2 separate regions of the Homo sapiens genome follow, and region 1 is linked to region 2. The links are contacts of gene promoters, found by promoter capture Hi-C in blood cells and fetal thymus (Javierre and others, 2016). All regions are on one chromosome and are shown on one strand. The core of a region is centred on a gene start or on the middle of the fragment in contact, and the rest is flanking DNA. Distances in the headings are between cores, read along the strand shown. Region 1 overlaps TRD-AS1 (TRD antisense RNA 1). Region 2 holds the start of PRMT5 (protein arginine methyltransferase 5).

Region 1 (5,190 bases), core at 1,965-4,464, 550 kb after region 2:
GAGAGATATGCTCTGTGGACTTTCTTACAAATCTGTCCGCATTCCCAACTCTAAAACTGACTCATAAAAACCTGATACACTGGGCAGTTCTTTCCAAAAGGCAAGGTGAATCCTCTGATCTTGGGGCAGACAGAGTCCCACACTCCGTGCTGAAATCCCCCCGATTCTTGAGGAATCCCCAGAGGTTGGGACAGAAAAGGCACCCAGAGGAAGGGAATTCCATGGGTCTTTTCCAACAGCCCACCTGCGCATCTCCACACAAAGTCCTTGTGAGAGGAAGCCCACTTCCATCGCAATTCAGGACTCACTTTTCCGAGGCTGATCTTGTCTGACATTTGCTCCGTGGTCTGTGCTGGCATCAGAGTGTGTTTTCGGCCGTGATTCGTCAGCGTGGGGCTTGGGATAGCTGTGAAACACTCCCCAGGATGGAAAACACAGTGTGACATGGAGGGCTGAACTTATTGCAACTCGTGAGAACGGTGAATGAAGAGCAGACAGGGCCCGTGCCAGCTGCAGGGTTTAGGCACGGGGTGCAGGTGCCTATGCATCACCGTGGGCTCCTCACACGAGAGGATGGGGCCCGCACCTCTGGGCTACGTGCTAGACACAGAGTGATGTTGCTTTTTGTCATCAAACCAAGCAGTTGATATTCTCTTTAAACCTCAGCATGTGTTCATAAATTTCATTAATTGATTCATTCTTCCATATGTACTCAGCTCTAGGATATGCAGTGAAGTAAACACAAAAAACAAGAGTATGACAGTCTCGACCCTTGAGGATCTTATTATTAGAGATGGAAGTAAAAAAGAAGCATAGCAGTCAAGGCTGTATTAATTCTCCATATAAAAAATGTCTAACATACGAAGTAGGGATTCAGAGAAGGGTCACTAGCAGTTACAACAGCTGAAGACTGTATCATGGAAGTAAATATTATAATTCAAACTGCCAAAGGAATTGCAGTTGATGGTGAAATGCTCTCTAAGATGTGTGGCCTCCTAAGCCCCCGAAGTCTAGGCACTCTGCTCCAGCTGTTGTCTCCCTGAGTCGGAAGACAATGGGAGACAGGGGAATCTTCTAGGAACCCATTCATTGACCTGTAATGGTTTTCTTCCCCTCCTTAATATTACTGTTCATTCATTGATTGACATGTTCATCCATTTATTCATTCAAGAAACCTATATTGTGCCAGACCTGGAATTACAGAGATAAATCCAAAAGTATTTCATAAATTTTCACACTAGGTTGCCACTGAGTTGGAGCTTCATAGAACAGAGACAAGCCAAAATCACTAAAAATTGCTGTCTCCATCTTCAGGCACTTGTGTTAGTTTCCCGTTGATTCTCTGCTGCTTTTAGATTATCTGCCCATGGGGTTCTTTCGCTTTCTCTCTGCTGACCCCAGTGTTCTGCTGTGTTTTTTCACAGTCCGTTCATACCCTTACCTCTGGAGGTGAGGGTGAGACAAGGTTCCTGGTACTTCTAGTCAGCAGGGATGATGGTCAGAGAGAACATTTTATTGGTCATGTGGAAATAATCTAAGCACAAACAAACAAATAAAAGACCTCTGCTTTAGTCTTGATTAAAAATCCCACTAGTTTGCAATGGTGTTTGATATGCCTTGTGAGGAAGAAATTCTATTATGTCAAATTTTCAAAAGTCTGTGCTGCTGTGATAAAGATACTTACATTCCATAACCACAGAGTTCAGTGAAAAGGGGCTGTTAGGAGACCAGACAGTTTGGGGAAAGGTTTTATGTAATTTAAATTTACAGAGGGTTGGCCTCTCCTTGTGTTTACTGACAAGGAACAAGAAGCTTCAGTATCAACTCCCTAGGAATATAACCTTTAACAGCAAAGCATTTGATCAAAAAGAGCTCAGAAAAGTATTATATTGTTCACTTAATCCTCAGAATGTTTGTGTAGGAAGATAATTTGTTTAGTTGAATGATAAATCAACTCACAACCTTTTATTACTTAACTGATTCCTTTCTTTCTCTCTGATGTGGTCTTTTCTTTCAGTCAGAAGAACTTTAGACCCTCCTGGTTTTCCCCCTCCTCTCCCTTGGGCCTACTTTTTTCTTAGCAAACCACAAGAAATAAGGGTCCATAGTAGGCATTGCCCAGGGCTTGGTTTCTTTGCCAGTCCTGTAGTTGGACATTTATATTCTGGAGACAGAGGCTTCCGGGGAGCAGTTGGTATCAGATGATTTATACATTTCTGTGAGTGCTGAGACACAAGATCCAGCTGCTTGTTGGCTTAGCTGTGTCGTAGAGTTGGGCTGGATTACCTTGGTCTTATTCATAGTGCCTGGACAAACAGGCAACCCTCCATACACTATCAGCTCCAGGTCTTGGAACCAAAGTGAAGCCAAAGATCAGAGTCTGTGTCTTCCTTCCCTCTCTCTTCATTTCTGGAAACATCACAAGAAAGAAGAGAAATTCTGCTCAATTTCATGGGATTGTGAGGGTGTTGTCATTTGGAGTCTAATGTGGATCAGTGGGAACCACAGCCCGTGAGCTTCCCACATCTCCCTTGATCCCCCGTCATGTCATGTCTTCTCTGAGCTTAACTGAGTTTAACCCCCAACTTGCAAGCCAGGAACTGGGGAACGGAATTTAATTTTCCTTGTGCATCTACTGCATGCCTTCAACTTCCCCACAACACTGACTCATATAACTTTCACAGCCAACCAAGGTATGTATTACGTTCTCGTTTTATGAACAAAGAGGACCTAGGAGGTTAAGTAACGTTCGCAAAGTTTTAGAGCTAATTGTGCTAGAGATAGAACTTGAATCTAGATATAAAGTTCTGACAATTTCTATGACCATATACAGCGAAAAGGAAGGAGTAGGCCAATTCTCCTTCTTCCTCTACCTACCACTGTCTTTGTGAAAGGGTCAAGCAATGCTGGGAGGGAGGAGATTCCTTAGCTGTGTCCTTTCCCAGTAGCTCCACTCCCCAGGCCTCCACCACATGTCATGAATCTAATCACTCCAGTGGTCAGCTTCAACTTTCAGCAGGTGCTGGGATTTGGCCAGGGCTTGCCCTGGTAGTCATGTGAAGGGAACAGCCCAGTCACTGTCACATCCTTAGCAGCCCGCTGTCACTCCCAGTGTCCTTAGGGCCAGAACTGACCAGCATCCCAGAAATTCCTGAGCTGAATCTTGTTCCCAGGGACTACTGAACCCCTGAGAAGGAGGGTGGGGGAGAGCCAGATACCCCCACCCACCACTGTGCTTTATCCTCTGACAGGCTGGACCCGAGTGAGGAAGATCAGTGGCAGGAGTGACCTCCAGCCAGACTCCTTCTGCCCTTCACTTTCCCACAATGGGAGGGTGGACCCGCTTGCTCTGGGCCAGTTTCTCATGGGCTTCTCTGAAGCAGGTACTTGCCGATGTGGGAATCCCCATACTCTCAGGGGACCCTGAGATGTTGGGGACTTCCACCCCTCAGAAGAGGGAGGTGATAAAGTTGGCTGGGACCTGCAGGCTCGTCAGCCTCAACTACGTAACAAGTGGCAGGGCTTGCCTGCTTGTGAGAGGCTCTGTTGTCTTTGGAACAAGTTGAAGGAATTGACATTAATATTTTTGAAGTAAACATAGGCCCTGGAACTCAAGGCACAGGCCAAGCACCCCTCAGGTAAAGCTGGGGCCAAGGTGAAACAAGCAGATGCAGGAAGTGCAGCAGACGAGTGGCCAGAGGACAGGTGTAAACCCCAGAGAACTGGTCAGGACTGACTGCAGAGAGGGTGGCAGACACCGTCACTTCTGGCACAGGCTCAAAGGGGTTTGCAAAGAAAGAAAAAGGAAGAAGTGTTAAGACAGTCTGACGGGTGATGAGTGTTCTATTAGGGTGGGATTTTTGCATGTGGGAGAGGACTTCTGATTGGTTTTCAAGTAAACTTTTCAATCTTTGATTCGTTTACTATGTATTGGTAATACATGGGGATTTTCCAGGCTGGGTAGGCCCATACGAGTTTTCCAGTTTTCACTGAATTTGAAAATATGGTCGTCTGCTTTGGGTCTGAGTCTCACATAAGCAATTCTCAACCCCAACTCTGCCTTCTAATCTTAGGTCTTGGGCAAGACTGTTAACCTTTCTGGGCCTCAATTTCCTTGTCTATAAAAGAAAAGGGTTAAACTATGTGATCATCTGGAAACCAACTCTAGGTGCTGAGAAGGCAGAGGTCCCTTCCAGGTGGCCCACCCCTTCCTCGTCCCCTGCAGTCCTCAGGCAGCAGGCTGCCCTTCTGCAATCAGTTTACTTCTGGAAGCTGCTGTAGATACTCAGCCTAATTGGATTTTCCGTGTGTAAAGATGTGAGTAGAGTCACAGAGAGGTTTCCTCCAGGCTCTGAAGGCCTCCAGGATCACTCTGGATGACAAATAGAATTTAATCAGTTGATCAGTGTGCCTAAATCCTCTTGTCATGGTGGTGATGTTTGCAGTTCAATTTCATTTTTATAGAATAAGGGATTCAGTGATTTGGTGAGAAAGGGAGGTGTTTCTTTTGTAACCATGATATTGCCATATTATTTAGCCCCGATTTGAGTGTGGTTCTCTGTTGAGCACCATCCCCAGTGCATTAAATGGAAAGAAACTTCTCTCTTGAAGCTTCCAGTCTGAATCAGCAAGGTGGTTCTCATATGAAAGGTAGACAGATATACAGGCTAGTGCAAAAACACCAAAAAGTTAAACCTGCCTTCCCATGAAGTTGCCATATCTTTGACATTGTGAACAAGCACCAGCAGACAAGTGAGCAAGGAATTAACCATGAGAGTAACATTCCTGTCCCAAATTCAGAGCCATTAATGGTTCAGGAATAGGTCTAGGAGTGCCGAGGTCCTTAGCTGGCACCATCAGCCTACTCCTCTCCCTGATGGATGTGAATAGAGGAAGGAAGGAGAGATTCTTTAATAGACAACTACTGAACAGGAATTTTACATTTACTCTTCTTTTCTACATCCCACTTTTGTAGATGAAGAACCTGAGGCTCACCTTGCTTAAGTGACTTGAGCAGCTTCACGCATCTTGTAAGTAGTAGAGACAGAGTCAAAACCAGATCTTCCTGCCCTCTCTATCATATAAACCACTTACACTGAATTACAAAGTGAAACTGATCTATGGTGAATTGTACTAATGTTCTGCTTCTGCCATGGGCACCAGAGGAGATACCTTTCTTTGTTGACACTA
Region 2 (5,168 bases), core at 2,091-4,590:
GCCAGGCATGGTGGTGCACACCTGTGGTCCCAGCTACTTGGGAGGCTGAGGCAGGAGAATTGCTTGAACCCGGGAGGTGGAGGTTGCAGTGAGCTGAGATCATGCCACTGCACGCCAGCCTGGGCGACAGAGCAAGACTCTGTCTCAAAATAAAATGAAAAATGAAATAAAATATAAATAAATAAAATGCTGGTGGAGTACTCACCCACTTGCTGAGAACAACCATTTATTGGAAAGACCTGGAGGGAAGAATTCCAAATAAATTCTGTAGATACTCCAACTCTAAGGAGGGGGAGCATAGTGACTTCCTTCCAATGAATACAGTATGGAAAGTTGGGGCCGGGGAGAGGGTGGGAGAGAATCACTTAACAGTGGAAAAACTGGATAAACTACTTCTTTTCAGGTGATCAAGGTCAACATTAAGTCATAAATCATGTTCATAGTATGTACCCTTGATATGATGTGATTAAAATAGCACTTTTATTTTTTTGAGATGGAGTCTCGCTCTGTCACCCAGGCTTGGAGTGCAGTGGTGTGATCTCGGCTCACTGCAGCCTCTGCTTCCCAGTTTCAAGCAGTTCTCCTGCCTCAGCCTCCGAGTAGCTGGTATTACAGGCGCATGCCACCATTCCTGGCTAATTTTTGTATTTTTAGTAGAGACGGGGTTTCACCATGTTGGCCAGGCTGGTCTCGAATTCCTGACCTCAGGTGATCTGCCTGCCTCGGCCTCCTAAAGTGCTGGGATTACAGGCCTGAGCCACTGCCCCCGGCAAAAACAGCACTTTAACTCTGTGACCTTCCTTCCCAAAACACAGTCTAATCATGAGACAAACAGACAAATTCCAATAGAGGGGCATCCTACAATATACCTAACCAGTACTCCTCAAAACTACCAAAGTCATCAAAAACAAGGAACATCTGAGAAACTGTCATAGCCAAGAGGAGCCTAAGGAGACATAGCAACTAAATGTCATATGATATGCTGCATGGGATCCTGGAGCAGAAAAATAGTAACGATAATAGTGGACAAAAGCACCTCCAATCACTTCAGGCTTCATGGAGCTTTTTTTTTTTTTTTTTTTGAGATGGAGTCTCGCTCTCTCGCCCAGGCTGGAGTGCAGTGGCACGATCTCGGCTCACTGCAAGCTCTGCCTCCTGGGTCATTCTCCTGCCTCAGCCTCCTGAGTAGCTGGGACTACAGGCGCCTGCCACCACACCCGGCTAATTTTTTTTGTATTTTTTTTAGTAGAGACGGGGTTTCACTGTGTTAGCCAAGATGGTCTTGATCACCTGACCTCGTGATCCGCCTGCTTCGGCCTCCCAAAGTGCTGGGGTTTTTTTTTGTTTTTTTTTTTGAGACGGAGTCTTGCTGTTGCCCAGGCTGGAGTACAACGGCATGATCTAGGCTCACTGCAGCCTCCACCTCCCACCTCCTAGGTTCAAGTGATTCTCCTGCCTCAGCCTCCTGAGTAGCTGGTATTACAGGCGCACGCCACCACGTCTGGCTAAATTTTGTATTTTTAGTAGAGATGGGTTTCTCCGTGTTGGTCAGGGTAGTCTCGAACTCCCGACCTCAGGTGATCCGCCCGCCTCGCCCTCCCAAAGTGCTGGGATTACGGGCGTGAGCCACTGTGCCCAGCCTGGCCTTCATGGTGCATTTTTTAAATGCTTTGGTTTTTCCGACTTTCCTTTCCTCCTCCCCCTGCCCCGACATTATTTTGCTCTTGTTGCCCAGGCTGGAGTGCAGTGGCGTGATCTTGGCTCACTGCAACCTCCGCCTGCCGGGTTCAAGCAGTTCTCCTGCTTCAGCCTCCCGAGTAGCTGGCCGAGTAGCTGGGATTACAGGCGCCTGCTACCACGTTTAGGAGAGACGGGGAGTTTTCATGTTGGCCAGGCTGGTCTCGAACTCCTGACCTCAGGAGATCCACCCGCCTCCGCTTTCCAAAGTGCTGGGATTACAGGCGTGAGCCACCGCGCCCGGCCGGTTTTCCGGCTTTCATTCTTTTGGGGCACTTGCATTGCACCCAGGGTTCCCCAGAACTTATCCTACCCCACACCCTTTTCGTATTTCCTATGGCTCTGTCCCCAACGAGCTATGGTGATCTCAGTCGCATGGCCTCAGTTCTTTTCTTCTAGCGACCTCCATCCAACTTTCTATTACACAGCGCCCCCTAGACGTTCAATTCAGCATGACCAAACCCAAACCCTGATTTCCCAAACCCTCTTTCCGCATTTCTTGCTCACTGCATGGACAGAATCCTAGGCATCACCCCCTACTTTGCTTTCTCAGGACTCCTTGCCAGTCGGTCCCTAAGTTCTGCCAGCGGCGCCTGCGTGGGGTCTCTTGTACCGTGTTCTCCTCTCCATCCTTGCTGCCGAGCCCTCAACACCAGTGGGCCCCCTGCCTTCTGGAGTTCCCATTTACCTCCCTATGTCTTTCCTTGCTTCCTTCCTTTCCATCTCTAGCAGCTAATGACATGAGAAAATGTAGATTCTCTCTGGCCTCCATGCCAGCCAATTTCATGACTGCTGCCCACTGTAATTAATGAATTCCTTTTCTCTATCTTGAGGTGTGTGTGTGTGTTTAGGCGTTTATTTACACCTTTTGTGTTTGAAACACAAAACACTACTTCCTAGAATCACTAGGAAGTAGTAGCTGAGTTAGCAGTTTATTTTAATATGTAACATAGTAAGGTGACAAAGCTCATTTTAATAGCACCAGCCATTAACCCAGTTTTCTCAGTGTTCATATGGACGTAAATAATGACACAAGAAAAACACTTTTGAGGGTAGTTACGGGAAAAGCTGACATTACATGGCTGCATAACCCAACCGACTCAGGATCTGATAATGAAAGCGTGAAGATAATAAAGAAGCATCAAGCTGCGAAAGGAAAGGAAAATTACAAAATGCTCACGCAGCGAAGCTGCGAGGAACCCCACCGAGCCAGCCAGGAGTCGAACCTGGAATCTTCTGATCCGTAGTCAGACGCGTTATCCATTGCGCCACTGGCCCTGAGATGGCACTGTTTCTCTCCGTGATGGTACTTCAAGGTTATACTGCAGGGTTTCATGGGCGGTGTAGTCTCTCAACGGCGTTCTTCAGATAGACTAAGCATTCTGGGAGATTGAAGTTCGTCAGGAACCAGACCCTGAGATTGGTGGATCCATGCCGTACGCCACTGTGCAGCCCGCGGATTGGCAGGAAAAGCCACTCCCCATCCCTCCTGTTCGGGAGCTGTGGCAGACGCTCTGGTTGTTAAGGCGACTCGTCCCGCCTTCTGGGGCACTAGTTTGACTTTGTGATTGGCTACTAGTATCAAGGAATCCCGGCGTGGACAGCGCGAGGAGAAAGATGGCGGCGATGGCGGTCGGGGGTGCTGGTGGGAGCCGCGTGTCCAGCGGGAGGGACCTGAATTGCGTCCCCGAAATAGCTGACACACTAGGGGCTGTGGCCAAGCAGGGGTGAGGGCCGGACCTCCACGAGCGGAATGCGGGGTCCGAACTCGGGGACGGAGAAGGGCAGACTAGTCATCCCGGAGAAGCAGGGGTGAGGGGGTCGGCTAGGATGAGGAGGGGAGAGACTATTACTCTTTGGAGGGGAGGAGCCTCGGACCCAGTAACGTGAGGAAAATAACTTGTGGGAGGCCTGTGGTCACTGAGTCCCAAAGTTGGGAGAGTTGTTGGGTAAACTCTAAAGGGCCCTGGAGGTCGCGATTATTGTCTGGGAGTGGGAGGAGGTGTTAGGGGGCAAGGGAGAGAAGAGGCTAATTTTGACGGGGGAGGCATGGGCAGAACTGGGGCAAATCTGGATGTGATGGTCTTGGAAACATACTGACACCTGAGGAGAAAAAAATTCTACTTGTGGATATCCATCATTTTCTCCTTACTCATATGTCCCATGGCTGTGTTTTAGGGAGAAATTGAGGCACAGTACAGCAGAGTTGATATCCCCCAAGGTGGTCTGAACTCAGCAGCCTAGTAGGCTGAACTGATGGCAGCTGAAAGGGCTGTGCAAAATCAAGATAGCCTAAATCCAGTTGCTTGGCTCTCTGGCACTGCTGCTGTCTTTACATGATTCTGGGTCTGTCGCGGTTGTAGGTTTGATTTCCTCTGCATGCCTGTCTTCCATCCGCGTTTCAAGAGGGAGTTCATTCAGGAACCTGCTAAGAATCGGCCCGGTCCCCAGACACGATCAGACCTACTGCTGTCAGGAAGGGGTAGGGACCATCCCATATGCCCCTTAATTATTAGAGGCAATAACAACTTCTGCTTTATCGGGGCCCTCATTCTCCTCCTTTTCTGACTTGGATATATTTGTTAGTCCCTGGGATATAGATAACTTGTTTTCTCCTTGCTTCTCTATTCTGCATCAGGCTATCCCATGTCTATGTAGAAAAAACCTTTGTCTCTCATTTCTACTCTTGATTCCCAAAACTAAAAATTGAACAAGTAAAGTGCTGAACCTTATTCAGTATTTGTCTTTCTTGGGTGGGGGAGTGCAGACTGGAATACGCTAATTGTGGGAAAGCTTTCTCCATGGATTCGTCCAGACTCAAAAGTGGAGAAGATTCGCAGGAACTCCGAGGCGGTAAGACTGTTTGACTTCTCTGCTGGATTTTTCTAACCAAGCTGGGTGGGGAGAGTGGTCCCCTCCCATCCCCAATAACTTGGTAAATTAACTGATAGAATGAAATTAAAGCTATTAGGCTGGGTGCTGTGGTGCACACCTATAATCCTAGCACTTTGGGAGGCTGAGGCTGTAGGATCACTGGAGCTCGGGATTTCGAGACCAGCCTGGGCAGCGTAGTGAAACCCCATCTCTATAAAATATACAAAAATTAGCCAGGCATGGTGGTGCATGCCTGTGGTCCCAGCTACTCAGGAGGCTGAGGAGGGAGGATCAGTTGAGCTTGGGAAGGTCAAGGCTGCAGTGAGTGGAGACTGTGCCACTGCACTCCAGCCTGGGTGACAGAGTGAGACTTTGTCTCAAAAAAAAAAAAAAAAAAGCTGTTTGCTTGTTAGCTCAAACTTTTCCTCTTCATCTCCGTTCCAGGCCATGTTACAGGAGCTGAATTTTGGTGCATATTTGGGTCTTCCAGCTTTCCTGCTGCCCCTTAATCAGGAAGATAACACCAACCTGGCCAGAGTTTTGACCAACCACATCCA

What was found. Contacts are between HindIII fragments. The CHiCAGO score rates a contact against its expected background, and 5 or more counts as called.
Region 1: a fragment that was not itself captured here is called in contact with the fragment with the promoter of PRMT5 in region 2 in 1 of 17 cell types (naive B cells); the score reaches 6.3 in naive B cells.

The regions. Positions count from the first base shown.
Region 1 is chr14:22,382,191-22,387,380 of GRCh38, reverse strand. It overlaps TRD-AS1 (TRD antisense RNA 1), which reads left to right. Exons shown (of 5, transcript NR_148361.1): 3 at 4,976-5,030. It also overlaps TRA. Among named protein-coding and RNA genes, the nearest start is that of TRD-AS1, 98 kb to the left of the region's middle. RefSeq lists an enhancer at 3,018-3,727. The HindIII fragment of the contact is 2,799 bases long and covers 1,815-4,613 here.
Region 2 is chr14:22,927,548-22,932,715 of GRCh38, reverse strand. It overlaps PRMT5 (protein arginine methyltransferase 5), which reads left to right and starts at 3,340. Exons shown (of 17, transcript NM_006109.5): 1 at 3,340-3,464; 2 at 4,101-4,219; 3 at 4,505-4,590; 4 at 5,056-5,168. The coding sequence starts at 3,355. It overlaps PRMT5-DT (PRMT5 divergent transcript), which reads right to left and starts at 3,107. Exons shown (of 3, transcript NR_110002.1): 1 at 2,964-3,107. It overlaps TRR-ACG1-3 (tRNA-Arg (anticodon ACG) 1-3), which reads right to left and starts at 3,015; the gene lies at 2,943-3,015. RefSeq lists a silencer at 2,887-2,976 and an enhancer at 3,387-3,496. The HindIII fragment of the contact is 19,261 bases long and covers 1-4,532 here.